Regions from separate parts of the Homo sapiens genome. Here regions 2 and 3 are each linked to region 1. Evidence: promoter capture Hi-C in 16 types of primary human blood cells and fetal thymus (Javierre and others, 2016). All regions are on one chromosome and are shown on one strand. Each heading gives the region's core, a stretch centred on a gene start or on the middle of the fragment in contact. The rest is flanking DNA. Distances are from core to core; before and after follow the strand shown. Region 1 holds the start of C9orf152 (chromosome 9 open reading frame 152). Region 2 overlaps PALM2AKAP2 (PALM2 and AKAP2 fusion). Region 3 overlaps PALM2AKAP2 (PALM2 and AKAP2 fusion).

The links. Contacts are between HindIII fragments. The CHiCAGO score rates a contact against its expected background, and 5 or more counts as called.
Region 2: a contact is called between a fragment that was not itself captured here and the fragment with the promoter of C9orf152 in region 1, in 1 of 17 cell types (total B cells). The highest score is 6.8, in total B cells.
Region 3: a contact is called between a fragment that was not itself captured here and the fragment with the promoter of C9orf152 in region 1, in 3 of 17 cell types (naive B cells, endothelial precursors and total B cells). The highest score is 8.0, in naive B cells.

What each region holds. Positions count from the first base shown.
Region 1 is chr9:110,206,132-110,211,189 of GRCh38, reverse strand. C9orf152 (chromosome 9 open reading frame 152) reads left to right here and starts at 3,031. Exons shown (of 2, transcript NM_001012993.3): 1 at 3,031-3,803. The coding sequence starts at 3,611. RefSeq lists enhancers at 3,361-3,861, 3,862-4,362. The HindIII fragment of the contact is 8,259 bases long and covers 1,695-5,058 here.
Region 2 is chr9:109,858,950-109,864,007 of GRCh38, reverse strand. All of the region lies in intron 1 of PALM2AKAP2 (PALM2 and AKAP2 fusion), which reads right to left. Among named protein-coding and RNA genes, the nearest start is that of PALM2AKAP2, 81 kb to the right of the region's middle. The HindIII fragment of the contact is 1,339 bases long and covers 2,308-3,646 here.
Region 3 is chr9:109,876,690-109,881,747 of GRCh38, reverse strand. PALM2AKAP2 (PALM2 and AKAP2 fusion) reads right to left here. Exons shown (of 11, transcript NM_007203.5): 3 at 1,067-1,197. Among named protein-coding and RNA genes, the nearest start is that of PALM2AKAP2, 99 kb to the right of the region's middle. The HindIII fragment of the contact is 1,499 bases long and covers 2,105-3,603 here.

The sequences.
Region 1 (5,058 bases), core at 1,782-4,281:
CACAGTCCACTCCATAGGACAAGGTCCCCTCCTCATTGGAACCAGAGAGAAGAGAGCACAGGGAAGCCTCCATCCCTTGCAATCTTGCCCTCTTGATTCTCTAAGGCTAGATCACTAGGCTTCAGGGATGGGATAATCTCAGAGCGAACTTATTATAGGGGAGAGGAAAAGTGAAAGAACAGGGTAACTCAAGTTTTCCTGGAGTCTCCAGTGGAAAGAACTCCAAACTGAAGTTCTTCACAAGAACAGGATCCACCACTCCTGTCCTGCCCCCACTGTATACTGGGCTGACCCAGCCTGCTGCTCTCAAGCCAGCTCCCTAAGGGATTCCTTCTTCAAGTCTCTGAGTCTCTACCCACCAATGACTGGTCTTTGTATGGACAGGGTTATTGTCTGAGTCATTCTCTCTGGAGTGGTACCCCAGTTGTGAGTGATACCTGTTGCCACTCAAGTCTCACAGAATAGCTGGATCCCCTGGACAGGAGTGGACCTGGAGCCTCTGGTCTAAGTTATTTTACTGGAAGCTCCAGGGAGGGCTGTAGGGATGCTGGTTCCGGTAATGAACTAACCTGCTACATTAAGCACAGTCTTATCTCTCAACCAGAATGGGACATTTCATGTTCCATACAGTTTACATATATACAGAAAAACAAAATATTCCCTAGAATCACAAGACATCTTATTCCTACTCCAGCGTCTCCAGCCCTGAACAACTTTGAAGCTTATTTCCAGTTCCTCTGAAGGATATACCTGGATAATGAAAGTCACCCATTTAGTGGCAGCCACCCAGAACAAACTCCAGGCTTGATCATCTTTTTTCATTTATTTCTGAAGACTCCCTGGGATGAGATAGAGTTGCCAGTTTTTTCTTATACTATTGTTATTGTTATCACAGACCAAGGAAAGGAAAGTTTATTCAGTAAGTGCTATTGAAACAACTGGTCAATTATTTGGAGGAAAAAACCCCTAGATCCTTGCCTTATACCTAACACAACACCAAAATAAATTTCAAATGGATTAAAGATTTGAGTTTTAAAAGAAAGAGGAACTATATGAACTAAAAGAAGGAATTTAAGCTCCTAAAAGGCATTCAATCAGCAGTAGACAGCCTCAATTTACTTCTCATCAAAATATCCACAAACGCACCCATATAGAAAAAGACAAAAACTGTTAATACTAAAAGATGAAGGCTGACAAGTAAATGCGAAAATATAGTAGAAATTTCTACTGCCATTATTTCTCTCCTCCTCTTCTCTTCTCTTCTCTTCTCTTCTCTTCTCTTCTCTTCTCTTCTCTTTTCTTTCTGAGACAGGAGCTCACTCTGTTACCCAGGCTGAAGTACAGTGGTGCAATCATGGCTCATTTCAGCCTCGAGCTTCTGGGTTCAAGTGATCATCCCACCTCAGCCACCCGAGTAGCTCGGACTACAGGCATGTGCCACCATGCCTGGCTAATTTTTGTAGATACAGAGTTTCACTATGTTGCCCAGGCTGGTCCTGAACTCCAGGGCACAATCAATACACCCACCTCAGCCTCCCAAAGTGCTGGGATTACAGTTGTGAGCCATTGTGGCCAGCCTACTGCCATGATGTCTACTGCCATGATTTCATGGCAGGTGCAGCTGGTCCAGCATGGATGGGTTGCTCTTGCCTTCATGATAGAGTGATCTACCGATAAAAAGGTATGAGGAAGCTTTGGCTATCTCTCTCGGTATTTTTTTGAGACAGATTGAGCTCTAATCCAATGTGATTGCTGTACTTATAAAAAGGGGAAAATTGGGCACAGAGACACCCACATAGGAAGAACATCATATTAGGCCGGGTGTGGTGGCTCACGCCTGTAATCCCAGCACTTTGGGAGGCCAAGGCGGGCGGATCACAAGGTCAGGAGATCGAGACCACGGTGAAACCCTGTCTCTACGAAAAATACAAAAAATTAGCTGGGCGCGGTGGCGGGTGCCTGTAGTCCCAGCTACTCGGGAGGCTGAGGCAGGAGAATGATGCGAACCCGGGAGGCAGAGCTTGCAGTGAGCTGAGATTACGCCACTGCACTCCAGCCTGGGCGACAGAGTGAGACTCCCTCTCAAAAAAAAAATAAAATAAAAAAATAAAAAGGAAGAACATCATGTCAAGATAAAGGCAGAGATTAGGCAATGTTTTTGCAAGCCAAAGAATACCAGAGATTGCTAGCAAACCATCAGAAGCAAGGTGAGAGGCATGGAACAGATACTCTCACACAGCTCCAAGAAGAAACCAACCCTGCTCACACCTTGACTTTGGACTTCTAACCTCCAGAACTCTGAGACAATAATGTTTGTTGTTTAAGACATCCAGTTTGTGGGATTTCGTTATGGCAGCCCTAGCAAAACTAACATATACTACCCAGTGAAGATTTGCTCTCCATCTTCCACGGCTCCCCCACATCAAATGACTAGATCTTGTCTGGTTAATGTCCAAAATGTCTTGTAGGTTCAGGCTCTACTCTGTTTCCATTGCCTCTGTAGACATATTGGGTAATTGGGTAATCAGTAAGCACCGTGATAGGAGAAGATAGAAAGGGACTTAGTTGACCAAATGCAGCAAGGCTAGGTCAAAGCTGGTGTAAGAGGGAGAGGGTCTGGGATTCAAAAGCAATGTGGAAATGTTGAGGCTGGCAAGCAGAGAGTGAGGGGATGCCTAACTTACCACTTGGTTGGAGAATGCTGAGACGGCAGAGGCTGCACCAAATGTCCAAGGGGTAGGGCTGGCCCGAGGCCAAGATTCCCCTGGGCTCTGTCCCATGGCTGACTTTAGGGCTGAATTTTCACCTGGGGTGTGTGTTGGGGTCTGAGTGGAGATCTTGGGGAGATCTTTGCTACTGGGTTTCTTTAGGGTGTGGCCGCGGGGCACACATCCAGAGGCACCGACCTTGTGAAGCTCCCGAGGGTGTTCTTTGAACTACTGCAAACCCAACCGGCAGGTTTGCTGAAAAGTGGCCACGTTCCAGTCCAAAATGTGTGAGCAGAGCGCGAGCTTAGCACTCCCCAGCCCCAGTCCCAGCTCTGCCAGGAAAGGGGAGACTTCACCGTGGCACTGGGAATTGGATTCTAAACTTTAGGATCAAGCAATGGAAGGACCTGGAATAAGACACCTTCTTGACCCCCCTGAAGGGCTCTGAGCAGCTGGGCTTGCCTTTCTCTTTGCTCCCCCAGTCCTCCCCTTACTTCTCGGTCTCCCACTCCCCATCACTCCTTTCCCTGCCTCCTCCTGCCTGTCTCCATCTTCCTCCCTCTCTTTCTTCTCTCGCCCCATTAATCCCCGCTTGTCACTATCACCTCCTTCCTCCAGTCTTTCCCCCTTCGCTGCCCCTTCTTTCCTCTGACATTTCCTTCTCCTCTTACTGCCACTGTCTCCCACCTTTCTCCTCCCCCACATTTCTCCCTATCCCTACCTCCTCTTCCCCTTCATCTTTCTCCTTCCCCCTTATTTTTCTATCTCCTTCCTCAGTCCCACTCCTCTTTCCACCCTCCTTTTGCCCGTCACTTCTCCTTCTCCCTCACTGCCCCCTCCCTCTCTCTCCCCTCCCCAGGTCCTGCCCCACCCAGCTGTGTTTGCTTTTCTCCCGGATCCGGATGGAGGGGTTGCCCTGCCCGTGCCCAGCCCTGCCCCACTTCTGGCAGCTTAGGTCTCACTTAATGGCTGAGGGCTCCAGGACTCAGGCCCCTGGGAAAGGGCCCCCACTCAGCATCCAGTTCCTGCGAGCCCAGTATGAAGGCTTGAAGAGGCAGCAGAGGACCCAGGCCCACCTCCTGGTGCTTCCAAAAGGTAGGAATGGACAGGTGCTGGGGAAGGAGAGACTTACCATGGGAGACCTGAGTGGCAGAGCTGCAGGGAGGCAGAGCCAGGGCTTTGCCAGCCCTCCCTCCCAGTGGGGAAGAGCAGGGGAGGCGGGCTCAGGGCAGCTCTGCTCAGCTGTCCCACCTGCTAAGGGAGCCAGGGGCCTCAGCCAAGCACCTGGCTGCCAGCACTGTTCCTGGCCTCTGCTCTGATGTTCTAATCTTGCTAGACTGGTCAGCCTGGTGAGCCAGGCTTGGCCCCCCTGCTAGCCCAGGTATGGCGATAGGAGCTCTGCTTCCTGGCTGGGTCTAACTAAGGCACCTCCTACAAACCAGAGAAATTCACTCTGGAGGTAGAAGACATGGCGTTCCCAACAGCCTGGGAACTGTCTGGGCCAGAGGACGCCTAGGGCTCAGAGACCCATGAGGCATCCCAGGCTCATCCAGCCTCAAACATCAGGCAGGGAGGTGTGATTGGACACAGAAACCCCCTCATGGGGAGAAACCTCCTCCCTTTAGGAACTCAGATTTCATTCCAGGAGGGAGTTAGAGGCACAGGGCTCAGAAAGCAAGGGCATGTCAAATCCCAGCCCTTCCTCCTCTAACAGAGGAACAGGTTGAGGGAGAAGGGAAGATACCCTGAAAGGTCAAAGCTGGGCTCTGTGGGATTCTGTGGTTATTTGTAGAGTTCAGTAGACTCTTTGGGCTGCCCTTTGCCAGGCCAGACTGGGCAGGAATCAGGGGCCAGAGGGACCTCTCTGTCTAGGGCAGGAAGTGTGCTGCCTTTTGGGAACAAAAGTGGCACCTCTGAGCTGAAGGAGCCCATCTCCCATTACCTGGGCTGTTGCCAACCAATGGAATCCTCGTTCCTGGCAGGAGTGAACTGGCACAGCCAAACAGTCACCATCTCTGCAGGGCATAAACTGAAAGGTTCCTAAAGCTCTATCCCACCCTTGAGGGTATTTATTCATTCAGTTATTCAACAAACATTTATCAATTTAAATCCCTATCAAATGGAAACACAATGCTTAATACACCTGCAATTCAGACTCACAAATCTAATTGCTTAGTGGGGATGATCCAAAGACATCTCAAATTCAACATGCCCCCAGAGAATTCACTATACCCTGTGCTCGTCCTTTCTCCTGCTCTTGGTAACTCGGTACCCCCTTTCCCATCATTACTAGGTGCTAAATTATGGTTCATGCAAGGAGTGCCCAGGTGTGGCTTTCTCCGAGAAGACT
Region 2 (5,058 bases), core at 1,728-4,227, 350 kb after region 1:
CCTGAGTTCAAGCAATTTCCCTGTGTCAGCCTCCCGAGTAGCTGGGATTACAGGTGTGTGTCACCACGCTTGGCTAATATTTGTATTTTTACTAGAGATGGGGTTTTGCCATGTTGGCCAGGCTGGTCTCAAATTCCTGACCTCAGGTGATCCACCCACCTCAGTCTCCCAAAGTGCTGGAATTATAGGTGTTAGCCTCCGAACCCAGCCCATAGTGATGGTCTTAAAGTCACTTCTAGGTGGACAAGAGGCAACCAGCCTACGCTCAGAATTAGATATGAGTCAAACGACAACAAGTTTGCATAGGACACCATTAAGGAACTCACTTGCAGTTTCTGATACTTGTTTGATGGCTGAGGTCTGAGCTGTGCTCCTCACCGGGATAGCCCACTGGTTTCCAGATTTCTCCTTCCCTTAACCAGGACAAAACCAGTAACTCTTCGGGCCTTCATTCTCATCCACTCTACAACTCTACCTCTCCTTTGAGCTGCAGATCCCTATACTGAACTGCCAACTATTCATAGTCACTCCCCCAAACTCAAACACATGCAGTCACCATCTCAAGCAATCCCCCACCCTCTACCTTCACACCTGTTCCTTCTTCTATGTTTCATCTCAGCAAATGACACTACTTAAGTCAGAAATCTAAGTCATCCTAGACACTTACTTTCTTGAAAGACCAAGTCATGTTGATTCTGCTGGCCAGTTTCCACATCTTTTGCTTCCCCACTATAACCTTGAGTATTGCCTTAACCCTCCTTCCTTCATCTCCTACCTGGACATGGAGACTATTCCATATTAGCATCTTTAGCACATTACAGAACTTATCTCCAGCTGGATTACTGTAGTGGTTTCCTTATTAGTCTCCCTGCATCCATTCTTGGCTTCTCCAACTCAATCTCCACACTGCTGCCAGAGTGATATTCTAAAATGGAAATCTGACCACCTCCGACCCTTGCCTAAAACCAAGGATGTCTCCCCATTGCCTACAGTGCAAAGAGCAGGTTCCCTAGCATAGCCAGTGAGGCTCCTGTCTATTTCACAGCTTCATCTCAAGCCATGGCCCCCTACCATGATCCAACCTCAAAGACTACTTGCAGTCTCCTGATCTTCCCGGCTGGTTCATGTCCTCTTAGTTTTGTTCTTATTGCTTCCTCTAACAATAATCGATGTGCACTGCTGCTTCATTTGACAAAAAACAATTCATCTATGATGGCACAGTTTAAATATCCATGAAGCTTTAATGAACATCTGTCAATTTTGATCTGCCTAGTCTTCTTTCCTTTGGGGAAACACATCTACCCTCACTGTAAATGGCTCTGGTGGAAATGCCAGTCATGGTTAGCTCATTCCTGCCACTAGGACTTGTTTGTGAGCCAGGTTAGGCCAATCATGCTACCTCGTTTCTTTGCAATAGCTATTGATCCAAGGGATAGCTAAGTGAACTGAGAAACACCAGTTAGAGACATTTCTAGGGACAGACACACGGATACCAGGAGAGAAGTGAAAAAACATACCACTAGGATTAAGCTGAGATGATGTACTTCTGAGTAGCAATTTTTCCAAGTCACATAAAAGAAATGCATCTACATTGAAGAAAATAAAGTCAACATGCAGAGGGAGGCAGAGTTGAAAGAGAAAAAAGGGTCCTACTACATTGTTTGAGTCCCAGATCTAGTCATGCATGAAGCCAGAACCATCCCCAGGCTTCCTAAATTATATACACTAATAAATCTCCCATTTTCTTAAGCTAGTTTGAGTGATGTTTCTACCACTTACAACTCAAAGAGTACTGACAAATACAGAAGATTTTTCTGTTCCCTCCAAATAGATTGCATCACTCCCTCCTTTCTCTTCCCTCCCCACAGGCTGTGGATTTTTCTACATTAGACCTCAAGCACTGTAGCACTTTATACACTTAACTATTTACACATCTTCTCTCTCTAACAAACTATGGGCTCCTTGAGGACAAGGATCTTGGCTGACACATCTCTAAAGCCTAGAATATTGTATGATGAATACATGTAATTTATGCTTACTGAGTATCTCTGAGTGTACTATCCTCTTTTTTCTCTCTTCCACTTGTGTTCCTGTTTGTCCATATCCCTCATTCAAATGAATTACGAATTTGTACTCATGACTTCAATAGAAGCAAAATACATTATTAAAAACACATTGGCCATCAGTCCATAAAACCAGAAGTGTCCTAATGCTAAAGACATTAACCCACATGAAATAAATTACTGTTGCTATGCATATGAGGAAAGAGTTGAAAAGGCTAATTCTGGGAAAGAATCATGGAAAGCTTATTCTGGGGAGAAAGGCGGGGGAAGTGGAAATTCCAGGGAAAAGCATAATGAGCTGACAGTAGCAACCATTCGGGGCAGTGTGCCTCAAGAGACATCTGGAATGACGTGATCTCAATCCATTAGAAAGACTTCCAGATTCCTCCACTATCTGGGAAGGCTAACAAGCCACTTTCATTCACTTTCTATAAATTATATATTTTCCTGGCAAGTATTTTCTGGAAGGATTATAACATGATAGAACATGTTATAATCATAACATGTTCGTAACATAACACGTAAACTATTGTTAAAGAGCACCCGTAGAGAATGAAGCACATTCTGTTCAATAAATATGATGAGAAGACAGACATGGCAAGCACCTGTTGTTAGGAAAGCCTATTTCCACCTTTTTGCTCCTTGAGACTCCCTCTTCTCTCCTGCTGACTGTGCTGCAACTGGAGCACTAGGAGATGCCAGGCTGTGGCTGTGGACAAGGTGGGTGTCCCAACTGAGTGTGTGAGAAACAGGGAGACAGGGAAAGAGGCTAAGCAGGGAAGGTAGTCAGAAGCAGAAATAGGGTGTTTCCTTTCCTCCACTGAACCCCCATTCTAGCTTGCGCTGATACCTCGCGCCCCAGGGCACAGCAGTGGGAAGGGACCAGAAGACCTACTCAAGGCCCTCTTGCCATCATGAGATCACAGAATTTAGACAAGAGGAGGGTAAAGAAAATATATTAAATTGTAAACGTTGCAATCTTTATTCTTTCTATTGCTAGATGAAGATAATTCAGCTTTGACTTCCTTCCATGTGAGCTAAAGGGAATCTTGTTTCCTTGCCCCAAACCTTTTAAGTGACTTTTTGCCAGAGGATTCCTAGGCTTTTGAAATGAAGAATCAGAGAAAGAGGTAAAGTACTGAAAAACTGCGAGAAACAGACTGTTTTATATAGTTGCACTTGGAAAGGGAATGGGTGGGGATGCTATTTAGGGGGAAAAATGATCGAGAAAAGGAAAGAAGAGATGAAGAAGTAAAGCACTGAAAGGGGTCAGAGACAGTTTAAAGTTCAAGAGTTTAAAATGAAAAGGCTGAGATATTAAGGCCAGGAAATCAGGAAAAGAGAATCTTGAGATATTTTACTGTGGCTTATAAAATGAATCCCCTCTGATGTTCTCCAGAAGATTCCAGTAAGGATACTGAAATTACTTTGGCCAACTAGCCTGTGTTCCTTTGAATATAACTTCATGCTGAAACTGGATTGCCAGGATACCTAGGTTTTATCTGGGTTACACCAAGAAATAAGGTGACATTTTGAGAATTAAATTATGAAAAATCAACTTGCAAGTGGGGACCCAACAAGCTTTTTCTATTAAGAAATCACAATGTCATCTCAGACATGGTTGGGTTATAATTACCTTTCTAACACTACTGCAGATTCAATGCTATTTATACATCTGAGGGGAAAAAAAAGAAAAATAGTCTGTCTAAAAACTGAAAACCTGAGTAATCAAGCATAAAAAAAATTGAAGAGGTGCTCACTCAGCTTTGTCCAATCGCCTGTCCAGCTAACAAGTAATGCTGAGTTTGCTCAGCAGACACATCCCTGTTCGAGATCAGTTATCTCATCTCAACACCATCAGATATTAAAACTCACTCTCCTGGCTCTGTCTTCAAGATCACCAATCATAATCCTGATTTCTATTCAGGCTTCCTATGTAGTTAGCTAAATGGAGAGATGGTACTTGCTAAGACCCCTGCAGTGTCCATCCACTGAAAAATAAATAGACACTTGGGTTTGTAGATAAGTAGCTGAAAGCTAAGTTGGCATGTGATTTTCTGATCCTACAAAACTAAGAAACAGAACTCAGAGCCATTTTAAATGACAGCCTTAAAAGGCTTGGTCAGAAGAACAAGTAAGGTAGGTTTTCTACATTGTTCTGCCTAGCCATGTACCCATTTAACCCGCAACATCACCAGGTGAAGTGGATAATTCCACAACTCTATTTATTCCTCATCCCTTAGTTTGGACCAGCATTTCCATCTACATAACTTCTCTTTTCTTCAACTGATTATTTGGACTTGAGCTTGCCATCTATCTGTAAAAGAAGGAACTGCCAGCTTTGTATTGTTTTCTGTAGTTATTTACTTTTAATTGTTTTATTGACATATGATATTTGTACACATTTGTTGGGTACCTGTAATATTTTGTTACATGCATAGGATGTATAATAACCAGGGTGTTCAGGACATCCACCATCTCGTGTATTTATCATTTCTTTGTGTTGGGAACATTTTTAGTCCTCTCTTCCAGCTATGTTAAAATCTAAAATATATTGTTGTTAACTAAAGTCACCTTACTGTGCTATCCAACCTTAGATCTTATTCCTTCTACCTAACTGTATAATTGTACCCATTAACCAACCTCTCTCATCCTCCACTACACACACTCCCTTCTCCACTTCTTGTAACTTATTATTCTACTTTCTACCTTCATGTTTCATTTGTAATAGAAACAATATGGTCAAGAGAATTTTTAAAAGAAAAAGAAGACATTGATTAGTTCGAGCCTCAATACTGGATTTTAGAAGGGGTAATTTAACACCCAAAACCTTAAGAAACATCCCATAGAATTTAGATGCAATATTATCATTAATTTCACCCAACAGTTAATATATCTGGCCTATTAGTGCCAAGTCAAATGCACAACACAGCAGAGTTTCCATTTAGGGTCCTTTATAGATACTTTATAGCCCATATGGGTTATATCTTAAGTC
Region 3 (5,058 bases), core at 1,605-4,104, 330 kb after region 1:
CATATCTCTCTGGCTAGGTGTCCTGGGACCTGGAGTGGCTATAGCTCCCAAGTAAAAACCTACATTATTGCTCTTGTGTGAGCCTGGCCAGTTATTGCCCACAGACAGGTCGCTTATCTCCCAGATTGAAGTGATCAGATCCTGGTTGAGAACCATAAAGAAACCACTCTCTGAGCAGTGAAAGCAGACAATACAAAGTTAATTTTTAGAGCACGGGCACATAACCTACAGAGGTGCTCTCACTCAGCACTTCCACACTCTTCATTTCAATCCCAAGACTGTTGACTACAGTTTTCACATTTCGAATTGACCAAATACAGCAAATTTGAAAACAGACTCACTACAGCAGCAATAACAGCTAACAACCTGACCCGAAGGAGGAAAAAGATGAAAGCTAATATAAGAACTCAAAGGGAGCACCTAGTGAAGGGGCAAGCTGCTCACAACACCTTGTGGGCCCATGAAGCCATCACTGTGCTGTATTACAGCCCAGTGCAATAATTAGTACTCTTTGCAGCCACAAAAAAGGATGAGATCATGTCCTTTGTAGGGACATGGATAGAGGTGGAGGCCATTATCCTTACCAAACTAACACAGGAACAGAAAACCAAATACTGCATGTTCTCATTTATAAGTGAGAACTAATGATGGAACACACGGACACGTAGAAGGGAACAACACACACTGGGGCCTTTTGGAGGGTGAAGGGAGGGAGGAGGGAGAGAATCAGGAAAAATAACTAACGGGTACTAGGCTTAATACCTGGGTGGTGAAATAATCTGTTCAACAAATCCCCACGATACAAGTTTACCTATGTAACAAACCTGTATTTGTACCCCTAAACTTAAAATAAAAGTTAAAAATAAAAATAAAAAATTATTAGTACTCTGTGTCATAACTCTGGGTCATCTGGAAAAGTTTAAACAACATCAATGTGCTTTGTTTAGGAAGAAAATTCTCAAGTACAGGAGAAGGTAACAGTATTGAGAAAGGCCACCTAGAGGAGAGCAGTGGTTACTGCACTGAAAAACTGTAGCATGGGTTCCCTGGGCTGGAAGCCACCTACCTCTGAATGTTATCTTCAAGTTGCTTGACTCTGAACTCATCCTCTTCAGACTGCCGCCTCCTGGCTTCCTCCTCTTCGGCAGTTCCAGCGGGTATGCCCTGCAGCAGCCATTTCTCCCGAAGCACTTTGGACTGTGGAAGTGAGGGAAGACAACAGACAAGATGATACTTTTCAGTCCACACTGTCCTCTCCCTCTGCAGTGGTGCTGTTTTAGCTCCACCCCTCACCAGCGCTGCCTGAATCGCTGCCTTCACCTCCTCACTAACATGGCTCCCTACTTCCCTCTAGATCAACACCCAAGGAGATTTATCTCTATATCATTTTCTATTATTAAAAAAATTTAAAAATAGAACTGTATAATGAATGACCATGTAACCTCATCTAGATTTAACAATTATGAACATTTTGCCATATTTTCCCATATGTTTCTCATCAAATGATTTTAAACTAAATAACAACCATATTTTACCCAACAATATGTCAGTATGAGTCTCTAAAAATTAAGAACATTTTTCTATGCAACTGTAATTTAATTAAAAAACTTCCTAAGACCACCTAATATCTGGTCCATATTAAAGTGTTTTAAAAAGATTGTCAAGACTCTTCTTCAATGACTCCCTTCTTTAATGACTCCCAATCATCTTCAGTAATAATCTCCAAATGTTATAAAAATCATATGCCCCTAGATGGGCACCGTGGCTGATGTCTGTAATCCCAACACTTTGGGAGGCTGAGGCAGGAGGATTGCTTGATTCCAGGAGTTGTAGACCAGCTTGGGCAACATAGTGAGACCTTGTCTCTACAAAAAATTAAACAATTAGCTGGGTGTGGTGGTGCACGCCTGTAGTCCCAGCTACTTGGGAAGGCTGAGGTGGGAGGATCGCTTGAGCCAGGTAGGTCAAGGCTGCAGCGAGCTGTGACCGTGCCACTGCACTCCAGCCTGGGTGATAGAACGAGACCCTGTCAAAAAAAAAAAAAAAAACCATACATCCCATGTTTGCAAGTGTACTACGATACAGTACAGTGGAATAAAAAGCTTTTGTTTCAGGTCAATGGTTCGGAGGCAGCAATTACTGCTTTGAGAAGGGAAATGAAAACAGTTCCAGAAAAAAGCATGTTGAAATTCCCTAAAAGGAAGAGCAAGGAGAGGTAGATGTGAGAGGATAATTTTGATTCAGGTTCCACTTATATGGTCCCTAGATGGCAGACGGCAGCAGCTACTGACCCTGTACATCATGGCTAAGGACCAGTGACCATGCCCATGGGCAGGTCAGTGGTCACCAGAGGGGACCACAGTGAGGATGCAGGGCACATGAACAATTCTTCCCAGAAATAGTAAGCAACGAAAGGAACAGCAGGAGCAATGACTATTAAGCCACCTAACACAGAATAAAGACCTGGCTCTTTGGCTCCCTGGCTCACTGGCATCACCTCTGTCCAGAATTTCGTTTGATCTCATCAGGCAGGGTGAGCGAGGTGAAAGGAAAGAACTCTTCTAAAGACTGAGAGCCAGGGAATGGAGGCTTGGAGCACTCCCTGAAGCTCTTATGAGCGAAGGATGCACAATTCCATAGACTCTCATTTGTATGCGGCATTAAGGGCATTTTATTATGAACTGATGAGTCTTTAAAAATAACCAACACTGGGCTGGGCACGGTGGCTCGCGCCTGTAATCCCAACACTTTGGGAGGCCAAGGCAGGCGTATCACCTGAGGTCAGGAGTTCGCGACTAGCCTGACCAACATAGAGAAACCCCATGTCAACTAAAAATACAAAATTAACCAGGTGTGATGGCATGCGCCTGTAATCCCAGCTACTTGGGAGGCTGAGACAGAAGAATCACTAGAACCTGGGGGGCAGAGGTTGCAGTGGGCTGAGATCATGCCACTGCACTCCAGCCTGCGCAACAAGAGCGAAACTCCGTCTCAAAAAAAAATTACCAACACTTAGTATTAGTAAGTTAGACTTCACTAATGGTCCTGATTCACCATTCTATTGAGAAGTCCAGGGGTCATCTGGTGCTGTAGACACCCTGCTCCATGCCCAGGAGCAAGTTCAATCAACCTGGAATTCCTGCACTTCCAGGAGAGACTCTGTGTTGACAATACATCATCAGTGTGGGTTCAGGTGACCATGGTTTTTATTGATGTTATTCTTGCCTTTTCATTACAAATCATTGTTTGTAGAGATCTCTTTGATTACTCTTGCAGCACATAGGCAAATTTATGGTACTTGACCTGTAATTTTTTAATAATTAGGCTTAAAGACTTGAGTTTGTTCACATAGAATTATTCCTAACTATACTCTTACAGTGATTATAGACAGGATCCACCCCCACACCTCAATATGCGTAAACAGCTATGCATCACTGGTGACATGCTGCCTGTTGAATGTGCTCTGTATAAATAGTGTGCATCTACCACCAGGGTAGGTATTAAAATGTACAGTTTTTACATTATAGGGCATCGTATGATAGTATAAAATCATGTGTAAAAGAGGGCAGTACAATTTGCTTACGTTGGTTGCTTATCAAAGCTTTATCAGAGATTCTTTTCCATTGGAAAGTGGGAAAGGGTGGGGCAAATCGGTTGCTCTTTCTACAAAACATTCAGAACCATTGTTCTCCACAAAAACCTCTCAAAATTTCCCCGACAGACCCTGTTTTGCACATTATGAGAGGCCATTTTTTAATCAATTCATGTTTTTATATTTTTATTCAGATACTTAATCTGTTGTAGGCACAAAATAAATTGTTCATTGGTAGCAATTCTGAAGTAGAAGAATGATTATTGCTTTGCTTTTCTTGAACTATAACTTGGCTCTGAAATTTACTCTCAGGAAGAGGGTAGAGACTGCAAGAGGCCATGCTGAACAGTGGCTAACAGCCTGAGCTCTGGAACCAGTCTGCCATTTACCAGCTGAGTGAGCTTGGACAGGCTCCTTCGCCTCACTGAGCCTCAGTTTTCTCATCTGTAAAATGGAGAAAATAGCAGTGCCCAGCTCAGAGGGTTGTTATGAGGATTAAAGGAGTTTATAGGCTAAAAGGGCCACACACATACTTAGTACTATAGAAATGTTTACTATTGTTGTTGTCCATCCTGTTCCCTTGGCCTCTGCTTTATTTACCTAAGAAAGAACAAGTAAAATACCACCAGAGAAGCCTTCCACCTCTACTGGCTCTGAGACACACTCTATGGCCCTTTCATACTATCCTCAAATTCTTTCTTTTTACATCTGTTCCCCCTGTAGCCTGCTGGTTCCTGGAAGGCTAGGACTGTCCTTTATCCACCTTCACATTCACTGTGTCACCTAGAATTTCCCAATTCATCCATTTATTCATTCAGTCAATGGAATTGTAGCCCAATTCCCTATAATGAATGAGTAAATGGATGAACTGGGAAATTCTCAACTTTCCTTCTCTCTAATTATTTGGGAGGGGTAGGGACCACACTTTCAGGGTGCTTCCTGTGCTAAAGATGTCCAAACCACAGATAGTAAAAACCTTAGGATTCTGGGGGATAGACATCCTGGAAGCCTTGGCGTTGGTGTGGACCCTTCTGGAAAAGCAGCCATGGACAGTCCTGGCTGTCTCCACACCAGCAGGGATGTTCTGCAGCCACAACTTCTTGCAACGTAAATGGCTGCTCTTGGAATGTTCTCTCTGCTGTTCTTCACACAGTGCCTCCTGCCATCACATGAAGGGTCTAGCCCCTCACTTCTCACCAACTTAGCTGCCACCATCAGCAGGTAGCTCTGGCCAGAGCAGCCTGGTGACTCTGGTCACCCAGAGGTGCATGTCCCTCTACTTCCATCTCTTTTCTTGATATAGGCATGACATCATTAAGAACATCCCAACAGGAGGAGCCAGGAAGAGAGGCTCCAACAGACAAAGGCAGTAGTGGGGCTGGGTGTGGTGGCTCATGCCTGTAATCCCAGCACTTTGGGAGGCCAAGGCAGGTGGATCACCTGAGGTCAAGAGTTCGAGACCAGCC